Regions from separate parts of the Homo sapiens genome. Here all the other regions are linked to region 3. The links are contacts of gene promoters, found by promoter capture Hi-C in blood cells and fetal thymus (Javierre and others, 2016). All regions are on one chromosome and are shown on one strand. The core of a region is centred on a gene start or on the middle of the fragment in contact, and the rest is flanking DNA. Distances in the headings are between cores, read along the strand shown.

Region 1 (3,486 bases), core at 511-3,010, 4.0 Mb after region 3:
GAGTGCCGCGGCCAGCTCGCACCGGCGGGGCCGCGACACATAGTTCTCCCGGTAGAACTCCTTCTCCAGGCGCGCGATCTGCTCGCGGGTGAACGCCGTACGGTAGCGCCGCACTTGATCCGCGCCAGAGCCGGAGCCACCCAGCGCCGCGCTCCCGCCGCTGCCTCCGCTGCCTCCATGCAGGCTTCCGAGGCCTGAGCCCGACGCCGACGTCGTGGTGCCGGCAGCCGAGCCGCTCTCTGCGTACCCTGGCAAACAAACGACCAACAGCGCATGAGTGGCTGTAGGACCAACAGCCCGGCGCTGGCGCTGCGCGCGGATCGGGGAAGCCCCGTCAGGAAGGAGAGTCGCTGCCGGAATTGATGGGGTCTGTCATGCTTACAAATTGCTGCCGTTAATGGAATCAATAAAGTTTGGGGAGCCCTTCATAAGCAAATAATAGAAACGGAATTAGGAGATTTCTTTTTTAATAATTAGAAATTTTCAACCAAGGAGGAAAAGTGGCCGAGGGAAAATGCCTACCTCTGGGCGCAGTTTGGGAAGCTCTGGGTTTCCCATGGTCTGGAGACCGCAGGGCAGCTTTTTATACGGCCTCTAACCTTTATCTGAGTCTTCGGGGTTTCAAATATTTTAAGAGTTCCAACACAGCAGTAGCTCAAACCCAAGCCAATAGGGGGTGAAATATACTTTTCAACTCTTTCTCCCGCTGACCTAAACAGAGACGCCGGCGAGGCTTCCTCCGACTTACCCAGAAGAATGCCCCCTCCAGCCCTGAGGGCACAGGGGCAGGGGAGTTCAGAGTAGTTGCCCAGGGTACCTTTCCCAAAAGCAACTCGGCTGCTGACTAGGGGTCTACCGGCTCGCTCGGGCTCTTAGACACGAGCGCAGAAACATTTTCTCGGACTCAGGAGCGAGGGCGGGTGGGCCTGGTGTTCCAGGCTCCGCAGGCCTGAGCCTGGCGGGAAAGCTCAAGGAGCAGAACTGGAAGGCACGGTCCCAGACATGCGTCCCGCCCCCGCCCGTGCTAGCTCGGTGTAGCTTGCCTGTGGAGGGTCTGAGAGGGGAAAAGGCACCGGGAAAGGCTGGCGGGGGCCGCGGAGGAGCAAAGAGGATGGGACTGGAGAGCGCGGTGCGGCCGGCGCGGTTACCTTTGCCATTGTTTTCCTTAAGCTGAGCGGCGCCGAGGCCCCCGGGGGAGCGAAGCGCGGAGCAGCCCACCTCCACGTCGCTGCTCATGTCGGCCTCAGCGGCCGCCTCTGAATAATGGCCCGGCTTCTTGCGGCTCTCGGCGGCGGAGGAGATTTCGGAGGAGACGGTGCTTTCGCTGCCCGTGTGCTGCAGGTTGAACAAAGTGTCTATTTCGAATTTGCCCTTGGCGGGGAGTTCTCCCAGAGCGCTGTGCAGGGGGGCAGACGGCAGGCGCGGGCTTAGGCGAGCCGGGTGCTGCGAATTTTCCAGGGCCTCGAGCACAGCATTGCCAGCCGAGTTGGACAAATTGGAGAATCTCTTGCCCGCCGTAGGGCTGTGCAGCCCTCTCTCCATCAGAATCATCTCTTTTCTTATTCTTTCCATCATCTCAGCTTTCTTAAAAATGTCACAGTGGCCCTGCTGTCCCGTCCTAATGATAGGCTGCGCCTAGGGCTAATTCTCATTCAGCCCCAGCGAACGCCTCTAAATATTATTATCGCTTTCGGAGGGAGGCGGAAAAATTGTGGGATGCCAGAGCGAGGGAATGACTGGTCAAAATGACCCATACATCCTTCCGATCCCGAGATGTCATTCATCAAAAAGTAGCGCCCGCTCGTCATTAAGGTACGAATGACGCTGTTCGAATAATCATTTATTGTAACAGGTTTATAAGCAAATAAATACACCCTCCTGTCAGTGGGTAATGAAGGCAGCTTCAGAGCAGACAAATAGATCCAGGTAGGAGGCGAGAAGAGACAAGTGAGGAGGAAGGCTCCGGTCCTTTGCCCGCTCCGAGCCAGTTCTGCTCGCCCGGGGGTTTGGCCTCGGGGGTGAAATTGACAGTCTGATTAATAGAGCGCGCCGCGGCACATTTCCCCCTTCATTTAGGGGCATCATTACGCTCTCAGTTTGCTAGGTTGCCCCTTAGGTCCTAATCATGCAGCGCCTTCTTCATTTTTCCTTGGACACAGATACGTATTAAATAATAGATAATGGTTTGACTTTCCAGAGTAGGTCCTCGGGAAGGTTTGGTTTTTTTTTTTTTTTTTTTTTTTTTTTTTACCATTTACAAGCTGGGGGCATAAGTGGGGGGAGATAAGGGGGAGGATGCAGGAAGAGTTGCGTAAGGAGAAGACCTTGCGCCTCTCCTATCTGGATTACTTATCTTTCGGATTTCGGAACCAAATATGTATTTTATTTAACAAATAGGACGCCGGAGTTCTTTCCCTCCCTATTTCTTCACCTCAGCCTAAATGCTCTCCTCCCACCCCGGGAGAGAGAGAGAGCGGAAGAGAGGGAGAGAGGGAGAGAGGGAGAAAGGGAGAGGGAGACGGAGTGAGAGAAAGAGAGAGAGAGAGAGAGAGAGAAATAGAAATATCCTAGAGTTTTGAAAGCGCTTTCTTGCTACGTGGCCGCGGAGGTGCATTGGGCCCGCGCCTCCAAACGGAAATCATTAGGTCCTCTCTGATTTTCTAACACCGTCTGCAGAGTGAGATCTGAACTCGAAGTCCCCGGTTTTTTACTTTTATAATCCTGCTGATAGAAAGCCTTCTCGCCTACGCATTTTCCTGAGGGGAAACGAACTAGGCTGGACGATTTGATAGCAGAATTCGACAGCTAACTTTAAACACAGTGGAGATTTACAGCGCCATACGGGCGCTCCGAATCCACGCTCACGTTGCCAGATTTTCCCCTCCCTCCTCAAATAGAATTATTTGCGGCAAAGGCGCTGGATTTCGAGGTCAAAAGAGGAAAGAGGAGACAGCCTTCTTCCCCTACCTCCCCGCTGCCCTCCCTTCCCCTTTGCTTTTCTTCCTTCTCTCTTTCCTCCCCTCATCAACCCCAGCCCCTTACCTGCGGCCACAGGTATTCCCAGCGTTGGGTCCGGGCGCAGAGAGTCGCCGAACAGCCTTACAGCAGCTCTCTGCGGCCTGGGCTTGGAGGCTGAGCCTCTTGGCGACAACTTTGATAGTCATAATGACGCCGGTGGCAACCATTTTAACGAAGATCAATCTTCACTCCAGGCCGCTCCTCATCTCCCGCGGTTGCGCCCACCCTTCCCTGACCCTCCAAGCACTGTGCCCACCCGCCAACGGCCCAGCCGGAGAGAGATTCGCGGACACAGGCGGAGGCGAGGGAGGACGGGGATGGGACGCGGAGGTCCGCCCGTGAGCTTCTGAAGCGGCTGAGAGACCCTGACAATCTGGGCGCTGGGCGCGGGTCCTGCATCCCCACATTTAGCCTCAATCCGAACCCCAACCAGGGCCCCCTCTTCTTTCTGCCGACACACCCAGAACA
Region 2 (3,484 bases), core at 291-2,790, 4.0 Mb after region 3:
ATGTCTGTCCATCTCGATCTCATTTTCTCCATTTGTAAAAATGATATTTCAGTCCACCCGGACACAAGTCAGGATCGCGCTCGCAGGCTGGGCCAACCCACAAGGAGCTAGGGGTAGCTGAAATCGCTCGCCAGCCTGCAGCATCTCTGAGGCCGTCTGGGGTTTTCGGAAATTTGCATTTGGTGTGGAAAGCCGGCGTGGTGCGTTTAGCTTGAGCAGGGGCGCCTTGGAGGTCTATTTCCAAGGCTGTGGGCCTGGCGCCCTCACGACATTGTACCTATCCCGAAGGAAACGGGGCTCAGTCACCCAAAGAGCCCACGAGAAAGGCCGAGCAGGAGAGGGGAAAACACACACACACAACAGAGAACCATTGCATTTATTGGACATTGAAACGGGAGCAGAGAGGGAAAGGAAGTGTGTGGGGAGGCGGTTGGTAGGGTAAAGCCAGACAGCTTTGGAGAGAGCTGCTAAAATCGGGAATATTTTGTCGATTCACACTCGACTGGGCCACATGACTCGGGCAACTTTTCTTCATCTCTGCTCACAAACTAGGCTGAGCCTTCTCTTTCTCTGCTTTGGGAAAAATTCGTAACTTTGAGGCCTGCGCGCTCTCTCGGCAGTAATTTCACAGGCTTGGCGGAGGAAGTAGGATCGTTAGCATAAGATGGGCCGCCTGCAGCTGCCTGGAACCGGCGCGATCTGAACGCCGGCTGGGAGGCTCCTGGGGGGAACTTGCGGTCGTCTGCCCTCCGCACTCCTCCGGGAACCGCAGCCGGCCCTGGTTCGCTGCGCGCCGGGGCTGAGACCCGGGAGCCGCGTCCTGCCCGAGGAAATGTCACCCTCCCCAGCGCGAGCCCTTTTTCCCGCCTCAGAACGTTTCTGTCCGCTCTTCTATTTACTCTCTCAGCAAGCCTAATGCCCCCTCCTGCATTCTTCAGCCTCCCCCTGCGCCCAGGGCTGACGTCTATCAAGGGTGAAATGATGGAAACTATATTCATGGGCATGATTTCCATTAAATATCAATTAACCTGAGAGCCTCGGCCAGGCTTGCGGTGCGTCAAGGGTAAATGTACATCTCATTTCCACAGGGCCCGCTCGGCTGGAAAAGAAAGGCTTTGATTTGCTTTGATAACGCCAGGATCTGGGGCCACACTCGCGGCTTTTAATTAAACCACTTCGATATGCCCCAACTCAAATGCACGGTCCGGTCCGTCAACACCTCTTGTCCACGTTCCCTGGGCTGCACCCGCGTGTCCAGAGCTGCAAAAGCCACGGGCAACCTCTGCTTTTGCAGCCAGGGGCTCGGGGAGGCAGTCATTTGCTCCGCAGCCTCCTGGGAGTGGCCTCCTTGGCTCCCCCAAGTCTAAGGCTCCGCCGCGGCCCCTCCCTGCCGGCTGCGATCCGCATTCCCGCGGCCCCGGGGCACACGGAGCCCTTGGCAGTGCGTCTTTATGGGCCCCCTTTAAGGCCGGCGGAGGCATCTCGGGCCGGGCGCGGCGCTCCGTCCGTCGGCCGTAGCGACTGAACTGCGCGCGGATCCCTCCGCGGGGCTCCTCGTCCCCGTCACGCTGACTTTCCGTGCAGTGCTGTGGTGCGAAAATGCCTCGCCGGTGCGCACCGGGTCGGCAGCCTCGGCGGCGGGGGCGAGATTGGCGGGAGGGGGGCGCGGGGGGGGCGCGGTAAGAGGTGGCGGCGGGCAGAGGGTGTTTTTTTTCTTTTCCCTCCAGAGCCGGGGTTTGTAAACCGAGGCCAGAGTGTCCCCGTGGGCCGAGCGCACTTTTTTCTTGTCCGGGTGCGCTCAGTCACTGGTGCCTGAGAGGAAACAGTGGAGGCAGCGGGGCAGGTCGCCTGGGGCGTCGGCGATTATATTGCGGCCGAGCCGGGGCGCGCCGGGAAAGGCCGGGAGGGCGGCGGCGCGCGGGGGCTGGGCGAGGCCCCGCGACCCGCGAGGGAGGCGGCGCGAAGCCGAGGCGGCGGGCGCAAGAGCCGGGCATGAGCGCCCAGTAGCTGAGCGCCCGCGGCTGCCTGGCCTCAGAAGCGACGCGCGAGCGCGGGCGGGCGGCAGCAGCGACGTAGCCCGGCGGTCCCGGCGGCGAGAGCAGCCGCCCCACAGGCCCCCGCGGCAGTGCGGCCGAGTCGAGGCTCGCTCTCTGGCTGCTTAGCGCCGCCCGCCCGCCCGGGGCCGCCGCCGCTGACGCCCCAATGAGTTCGTACTTCGTGAACCCGCTGTACTCCAAGTACAAGGCGGCGGCTGCGGCGGCGGCGGCGGCGGGCGAGGCCATCAATCCCACTTACTACGACTGTCACTTCGCGCCCGAGGTCGGCGGCCGTCACGCCGCCGCCGCAGCAGCCCTGCAGCTCTATGGCAACAGCGCCGCCGGCTTCCCGCACGCGCCCCCGCAGGCGCACGCGCACCCGCACCCGTCCCCGCCGCCCTCCGGGACTGGGTGCGGCGGTAGGGAAGGCCGGGGCCAGGAGTACTTCCACCCCGGCGGGGGCAGCCCGGCCGCTGCCTACCAGGCCGCCCCCCCTCCTCCTCCGCATCCTCCGCCTCCGCCGCCACCTCCCCCCTGCGGCGGGATTGCCTGTCACGGGGAGCCCGCGAAGTTTTACGGATACGATAACTTACAGAGACAGCCGATTTTTACGACCCAGCAAGAGGCCGAGCTGGTACAATATCCTGACTGTAAATCGTCCAGTGGTAATATTGGCGAGGACCCAGACCACTTAAATCAGAGCTCGTCTCCTTCTCAAATGTTTCCGTGGATGAGACCACAAGGTTGGGATGCATTTTTTTTTTAAGAAGGGAGAGGGGGAGAAATCTGCTTTCATCTCACGTTCTGGCTTTAAAACTCCCGTTCCCTCTCCCCCTCCTTTTCCTTCTTGTGTAGCCACAGTGGCTCTTATTCATAAAGTAATACAGACTTTTTTTAAAAAAGTAGGAACCATGTAAAGATGATGGGGACAGAATAATTGTGAAGACCTCTCTGCTCCTCTTGCCTGCACACCCTATATATATATATCGGAGCTAAAGAGCTCTGTGTATATTTCACCCCGTAGACCCCCGTTCCACAAACCTCCAGCAACATGCAGAGGTACCATAACATTTTTAAAACTTTTATTCCCCCCCCCTTTTTTTTTGTTTTAATCAGCAGCTCCTGGTAGACGAAGAGGAAGACAAACCTACAGTCGCTTCCAAACTCTAGAGTTGGAAAAGGAATTTCTTTTTAACCCCTATCTGACCAGGAAAAGAAGAATCGAGGTTTCCCACGCCCTAGCCCTCACCGAGAGACAGGTAAAAATCTGGTTCCAGAACAGGAGAATGAAATGGAAAAAGGAAAACAACAAGGACAAATTTCCCGTTTCCCGGCAGGAGGTGAAGGACGGGGAAACGAAAAAGGAAGCCCAAGAGCTGGAGGAAGACAGAGCCGAAGGCCTGACAAATTAACTTCTACCTTTAAAATTTACCACAGACTATTAAAAC
Region 3 (3,275 bases), core at 368-2,867:
GGCCCCTTGGGGGTTTCCAGCTTTGGGCCTAGAAGCTTACTTAGGGCCGCTCGAGGCGCAGGCCTGGAAATCCTTAAAAGTACTTAAAATGAACTTTAAAAAGCATTGTCCTAAACCCGCCTGCTTCCCAGCCATCTCAGGCCCGCGCTCTCCTCGCCCCTGCAGGGCGCGAGCCCCACCTGAGTCTGGGTGAGGCCCAGAGAGGCCGCCAGCTCGGCTCGCTCCGGCAAGGCCAAGTATTGAGTCTTTTGGAAACGCCGCTGAAGAGCCGCCAGCTGGAAACTGGAGTAGATGGTGCGGGGTTTCCGGACTTTCTTTGGCTTCCCGTTCACTATCCGAATTTCAGGCTCAAGGTCCTCCTTCTCTGCAACGATAAAGAATCGTAAGAACAGCGCAACCCAGGGGTCCTGGAGTTCCCGCCCTCCTAGAGGGCCCGGCGGGGGGGACTTGGCTTGAGCAAAGAGGTGGGTGCACTGAACTGTGGCGCCACGGGCAGGCGCAACTTCGCAGCGTGCGATCGGAGCCGCCACCGACCCCGGGAGCTGTACCCTCCAGGGAAGGGGGAGACAAGTGCACACCCAAGAGAAAGAAGCTGGTGGCAAGGAGATGCCCTTATGAGGCAGGCAGAGCACGCCCACTTGGCTCTTGAGGCCACCAGGTCCTACCAAAGGAGAGAGGGACGTAACCGGCGACCTGCGGCAGATTGGAGGCTGGGGAGGGTAAAGGGCACAAGCGGGCGGTGAGCAGGCAGCGTGAAAATCCAGAGCTTTCGAAGGCCCCCCGCCCCAAACACGTTTACCCATCCATCCCATTAACTAGACCGACTCGGCACTCTTGACTTCAGCGTTATGCATACCAGGCTCGTTGTTGGCTGGGGACGAACTGGTTCCATAGGGAGCGTAGGAGGTGTAGGCGGCGGTGTAGCCCAGGTCATAGCTGCTCTTGGCGGAGTAAGGGACGTTGTTGAGGCCGCTGGCTTGGTACTGGTAGGAACCCATGTGCGCGTAGGGCGAGCCCCCGCCGCCGCCGCCGCCCGCCGGGTGCTGCTGGTTGGTGTAGTAGCTGCTGTCGGTGGCGGTGGACACCGGAAGGGTGGGCGACTCCTGGGGCTTGTGGAGGCTGCTGCTGCTGCTGCTGTTGCCACCCGGGCCGGCGCCGCCGCCGCTCGGGGGCTGCTGGTGCTGGTGGTACGTGCTGGAGGCGGCGATCTGGGTCGAGTGCATATCAGCCACTAGACTGTCAAAGACTCCAGTCATCCTGGCCCGAGACGGGAAAGAGCAGAGGTGGCGGGCGTGCGGGGGAAGCCAGGCGCCTCCTCTGTCTCTCCCGGTCCCCTCCAGCAGCCAATGTAATTACGGGGGTGGTGGTGGGGAAACAAGAAAGGAGGCAACCGTCTAGGCGCCTCCTCCTCCGGGGGAGGCGATCACCGTGCGCTGCTCGGGACAGCTGCCTCTGGTCGCATCCTCTTTCGGCCTCTGGGCCCGCTCGGCTCCTTGCCCAGCGCGAGCGCGGGCTCTGGCGGGGGGCGGGCAGTGGAGGGGGCAGGGGTGGCTGGGCCGGGTCGGGGCTCTGGGAGGCGGGAGCAGGTGAGCGGCCCCGAGCGGCTTTACGATTGTCTGCCAGGCGGGCTCCTGAAGTGTGGGCATTTAACACTCGTCACGTGAGCGCTGGCGACGTCACCTAGCAACAGCCAATCAGAAGCAAACGGCCGCGGAGCTCCGGGAACGCCCGGCCAAGGGGCGGGCGTCACATGGTGGGCGCTGTGGCTGCGGCTGCGGCTGCAGCGGCCCCAGGTGCAAACAGACTGCCGCCGAATGTGAGCAGCGAGGCGAGGGGTCGAGGTAGCGAGGAGTCAGGGTGGCCCGCAGCAGGAAGACAGAAGGCGTGGAGACAGACTGGCGTTTTGCCTCAGAGGAAGAAGTGGGGTCCCCTCTCCCATTCTGTGAGCAAGTGCCAGTTCCAGTGATTCGTACTTTCATGTCCGAGGTCAGTTTTCAAACACATTAAAGTACATCGGTGCCCAGAGTCCAGCCAGCTCTATCTTCACTTTTCCTCGAAGTGTCTGGCATTTATTCTTGTTAGCCACTCGGCACTTGACATAATCAATTGATTTAATTATCCACAAACCACGTGTAATGCTCGCTTCTTAACCAATCCGCAGGGATATTAGGACAATTAATCATATAATATTGAAACGGGTTTTCCTTGTTGCTTCAAAGAGAAGCTACATAAACTTAAAGGTATTATTGCTAATAGTATATTTGAAACCACTTTCCCTGGTACTTTCCCGACACGCGAGACTCTGAGTAATTATATACGTTTGATAAGTAAATGACACCCTGAAAGCCATCCCGAGGACTTCCTCCTTCGGGTGGAAAGGTTCACCAGTTGTCCTTGAAAATTCGATGCTCTTGCGAAAAAGGAAATAGGATAATAGGTGAGATTATAGATTTATCAAGTAGATACTAGATTTATCACTTCTCTGTAAATTTACAACAAATATAAAAAGTTTTATCTGGTTTGTTGAATTTAATCCTGTTTTACAGTTTTGCATTTTAGGACCCTGTTCTACCCTATCATTGCAATTTTTTTCTTTTCCCTCTGTTTTTTAAAAAATCGGAAATGGTGACTTCCTCTGTCTCTATAACCTTGTAGTTGGAAACCTTGGCCCGACGGTGATGGACTGCACGACTTGCTGGACTCCCAAGTCCGAAGTTCCTGCGGCAGCGCTTGCTTTGTGGCGCCACCTGGTGGGCAGTGTGCGAGGTTGCGGGGGGCGGGGTAGACGGTCTAATCACGCCCAGGCGCCAGCCTCTGAAACCCCCCAAAAGAACAAAATAGTAATTAAAAGCCACAAAATTGTGCTAGTGCGCACCATCTGAAGCACCCTTTCCTAAAGACATAACATGTCGCTGAAAGAACTTGTTAAAACAACTGTCTGATAGAAAACAAGTTGATACCTTCAAAAATATGATCTTTGGTCTTCTTCCCCATAAAAAGCAAGTGTGTAATTAAAACTCCAGCATTCACACAGAGAAATAATGAGATAGGTAATGCGCCTTTAAGTCTACCTGGATTTAGTTCCCAGCTTTTTTTTGGTTAAGGAAGGCCCCTAGATGGAAAGCGCCAGCTTATGAGAAACGTTGGAGGTGGAGCTCACCTCCACCCACCTGCATTGCTTTATGCGGTTCTCTGCCTACTTTGTGGGCCTCAGCTGCAAAACCAACCTCTTGATATTGAAACATGATTGCCTTTTGGTGTTTTTTTGTTTGTTT
Region 4 (3,467 bases), core at 713-3,212, 4.0 Mb after region 3:
GGCTCGATGCCCTCCAGTCGCCACAGACCTATTTGCGCAGTGTTGGGGGAGGGAAGAAGACATGGGAAGGGGCGGAGGAAGGAGAGAGGAAGGGAGAAAGGGAGGGAGGAGAAAAAGAGGAAGGGGGGGTACATCAGCCAGAAAATAGATATTAGCTCAGACCACCCGCCTTTTCTCTGTCTGTCCGCACGGTGGGCAGAGCGCACAGCACCGGCACTGCAGCAGCCCGGGCCAGGGAGGGAACCAGCATCACAGCCAGCGCCGCCTGCCCTGGGTATAGGACTGAGGCCCAGGCCCCAGCGCTGGGATTGCCTGGGCGGAGGAATCTTGGGGAAAGGGGCAGCCTCCTGCCCTCGGTTCTGGGATTTGGGTTTGGGAAGAGACGGTTTACCTTTGAAAAGCGTCTGCTCACTCGGAGGTGGGATCCCAGGCCTTGCCTGGACCCATGGGCTAGGAGAGGGTCGCGGCAGGCTGGGAGGAGAGTGAGGCCTTGGGGGAGTGGATGGGGTGCCCCACGAAGAGTCTGCCTCAGAGCCAGGTGACACAGAGGGGCTCCAGGAGGGAGTCAGGCTCCGCTGAGAGCCCTTAGAGAGACAACCTATCTTGGGGGAGGGGCTGAAGTGACCATGCAGACCCAAGGGTACCAGAAGAGCCTCGGGGAAACGCGGCGTGGATTCGCAGGCCTTGGCGGGGCTCCGAAGCAGTGAAGGGTCTAGGTATAAGGCGGACACCCAGGCTAGGCCTGAAAGCAGAGGGGTGAGGAGGACGAAGGTGCGAGTGTGTGGGGGTTGTCTCTTGTGGGGAGCCAGCGGGAAGCCAAGCACCCTAAGAGTAGGACTCCAGATCCTTTTGTTCACCAGACTCCCCAGATTCTAGGGAGGCTGGGGACCACGGGCTGAGCCCCCTCCTGGCTTCAGTGCTGAAGGAGAAGGCAGAGAGGCAACGGGGAGAGAGACAGAGACAGTGACACACAGCTTAGAGGAAAGGAGGGGAGAGGATGAGAGGACAGAGAGAGAGAGGAGAAGGGAGACAGGAAAGCAAGAGGAAGGAAGAAGGAAAGCGGAAAAGAAGAGGAAGGAGAGAAGTGAAGACAGGAGAGAGAAGGGAGAAGACTGAAGAGAAACGAGGCAAGGAGAAAGAGAGACAAGAACAGAGAGGGAAACCAGAGAGAAGGGAAGAGAGCCGGGTGGGCACGAAGGCCCCGGCCTGGGTGAGTGCCTAGGTGGTGAATGGCCTGGGTTTTTCCGAGGCCAGCACTCGCACCCTTGGGGTCAGAACCGGAAAGAGCCAAGTCACTCCACTCTGAACGCGCTGGGCAGAAAAATATGTAAATCAGGGCTCCCTGCGCCCTGGAGAGTGGCGAAATTACTCCCGCCCGGTGAACAAGAAGCAACAAGCTCCCAGGCGGGTGAGCTGCAGAGGGTGGCAGAGTCGCGGGGGAGGGAGCGGCTGCAGTAAGGGGGGTGGGGTTCGGAACCTCACACCCTCACACCTAGTTCCTAGCTTCTAGGGAGCCTGGAGCCGGGGCTTCCCCCCCTCTGCTCGCTGCTTCTCTCCCTTCCCCCTTCCTCCCCCTCTTCCCCCTCCTTCCTCCTCCCCGCCGGCCTCGGTCCGCGTACTTAAAGCGGCGCGGGAGGGCGGACGCGGGCGGGCGGCCCGTTCGGGCGGTGGCAGATGCGCCCAGCGGTGACAGCGGCCAGCGGCGCGCAGGTGACCGGCCTGAGGCGCAGCCTGGTCAGGGAGCGCCCGGGGAGAGCTGGCGGCAGAGGGCAGCCGATCCGCCCCCAGCGCGCGCGTCTCGGCGCCAGGAGCCGTCCCGGGGCGTGTTGGCGAGCGTTGATATAGATATAAGGACATTTCTCTTCATGGCGTCACGTGACATAATTACCACCAGAATCAATCAAGATGAATTGCACGTCAGCGCCCGGTGGGGATTTTTGCTTAGTTGATCCTGGCCCAAGCCTCTTGTGCAATCGATGGCTCAGGTTGGCTGCGCGGGGAGCGGCCAGAGGCTCGCTGGCGCGCACGCCGCGGAGTCATGAACGACTTTGACGAGTGCGGCCAGAGCGCAGCCAGCATGTACCTGCCGGGCTGCGCCTACTATGTGGCCCCGTCTGACTTCGCTAGCAAGCCTTCGTTCCTTTCCCAACCGTCGTCCTGCCAGATGACTTTCCCCTACTCTTCCAACCTGGCTCCGCACGTCCAGCCCGTGCGCGAAGTGGCCTTCCGCGACTACGGCCTGGAGCGCGCCAAGTGGCCGTACCGCGGCGGCGGCGGCGGCGGCAGCGCGGGGGGCGGCAGCAGCGGGGGCGGCCCCGGCGGGGGCGGCGGCGGCGCGGGGGGCTACGCTCCCTACTACGCGGCGGCGGCGGCGGCGGCTGCGGCGGCCGCGGCGGCCGAGGAGGCGGCCATGCAACGCGAGCTTCTCCCGCCCGCGGGCCGCCGGCCGGACGTGCTCTTCAAGGCGCCTGAGCCGGTGTGCGCTGCGCCGGGGCCGCCGCACGGCCCCGCGGGCGCCGCCTCCAACTTCTACAGCGCGGTGGGCCGCAATGGCATCTTGCCACAGGGCTTCGACCAGTTCTACGAGGCAGCGCCCGGGCCCCCGTTCGCCGGGCCGCAGCCCCCGCCGCCACCCGCGCCGCCACAGCCCGAGGGCGCAGCCGACAAGGGCGACCCCAGGACCGGGGCTGGTGGCGGCGGGGGCAGTCCCTGCACCAAGGCGACCCCTGGCTCGGAGCCCAAGGGGGCAGCAGAAGGCAGCGGTGGCGACGGCGAGGGCCCCCCGGGAGAGGCGGGGGCCGAGAAGAGCAGCAGCGCAGGTAGGCACCGGGTACTGGGCAAGCGGTGGGCCCGGGGGCCGCGGGGGAGGGGGGGGGGGCGGAGGCCTCCCTCTGCTTGCGCCTTTTTATGTGCTACTTTATAAGCATTCGAAGAGGTTTATACATCCTATAAGATTTCCTGGGCCGTTGTAAAGTGTGTTTATGGTAGGAAACCAATTTAGGTGGGCTTAAGGTAGACTTCGAGGAGGACATTAATAGCTGTCGAGAGCCTTTTCCCAGTTTTGGGCAGGGGGTTGCTAGATACCATGGAGGGAGGGAGGGAGGGAGATTTCAAGCCAGTGTGAGTGCATACACCGGAGCCTCCTGCTTTTAAGGGAGAGAGGCGGGGGGTGGGGAAGTGGGGGGAGTTTGATCCTTGCACTGGACTTTATCCAAGCCGCTAGCTGACGCGCGCCGCTGGAGTCAAGCAGATGCCCCGGCGGGCCTGCTCTTGTCTCTGTTCCCTCAGGTTCCAGTTTAGAGCCTGCCTTGCCCTCTGCTTCCCCACCTCCGTGCCAGGCTCTGTGTGTGTGTGTGTGTGTGTGTGTGTGTGTGTGTGTGTCCGGGCGTGAACACATGTCCACGCCCGCACTCTCTCCTGTGCCCGCCCATATATCATCCCCCACGACGCAGGCAGGGCCTTTCGGC

What was found. The method cuts DNA at HindIII sites, captures the fragments that hold promoters and counts their contacts. A CHiCAGO score of 5 or more calls a contact.
Region 1: the fragment with the promoter of EVX2 here is called in contact with the fragment with the promoter of DLX2 in region 3 in 2 of 17 cell types (total B cells and naive B cells); the score reaches 35.4 in total B cells.
Region 2: the fragment with the promoter of HOXD8 here is called in contact with the fragment with the promoter of DLX2 in region 3 in 4 of 17 cell types (total B cells, naive B cells, naive CD8 T cells and 1 more); the score reaches 26.1 in total B cells.
Region 4: the fragment with the promoter of HOXD11 here is called in contact with the fragment with the promoter of DLX2 in region 3 in 7 of 17 cell types (total B cells, naive B cells, total CD4 T cells and 4 more); the score reaches 126.0 in total B cells.

The regions. Positions count from the first base shown.
Region 1 is chr2:176,082,202-176,085,687 of GRCh38, forward strand. EVX2 (even-skipped homeobox 2) reads right to left here and starts at 1,761. Exons shown (of 3, transcript NM_001080458.2): 1 at 1,149-1,761; 2 at 1-248. The coding sequence starts at 1,575. RefSeq lists an enhancer at 520-1,135. The HindIII fragment of the contact is 15,744 bases long and covers 1-3,486 here.
Region 2 is chr2:176,128,165-176,131,648 of GRCh38, forward strand. It overlaps HOXD8 (homeobox D8), which reads left to right and starts at 1,541. Exons shown (of 2, transcript NM_019558.4): 1 at 1,541-2,779; 2 at 3,153-3,484. The coding sequence starts at 2,203. The coding sequence ends at 3,448. It overlaps LOC100129455 (a long non-coding RNA gene), which reads right to left and starts at 2,364. Exons shown (of 1, transcript NR_187615.1): 1 at 1-2,364. The HindIII fragment of the contact is 7,912 bases long and covers 1-3,484 here.
Region 3 is chr2:172,101,283-172,104,557 of GRCh38, forward strand. It overlaps DLX2 (distal-less homeobox 2), which reads right to left and starts at 1,618. Exons shown (of 3, transcript NM_004405.4): 1 at 857-1,618; 2 at 180-364. The coding sequence starts at 1,256. It overlaps DLX2-DT (DLX2 divergent transcript), which reads left to right and starts at 1,724. Exons shown (of 5, transcript NR_126376.1): 1 at 1,724-1,986; 2 at 2,656-2,750. RefSeq lists a silencer at 1,420-1,619. The HindIII fragment of the contact is 7,057 bases long and covers 34-3,275 here.
Region 4 is chr2:176,105,318-176,108,784 of GRCh38, forward strand. It overlaps HOXD11 (homeobox D11), which reads left to right and starts at 1,963. Exons shown (of 2, transcript NM_021192.3): 1 at 1,963-2,819. The coding sequence starts at 2,039. The HindIII fragment of the contact is 7,005 bases long and covers 1-3,467 here.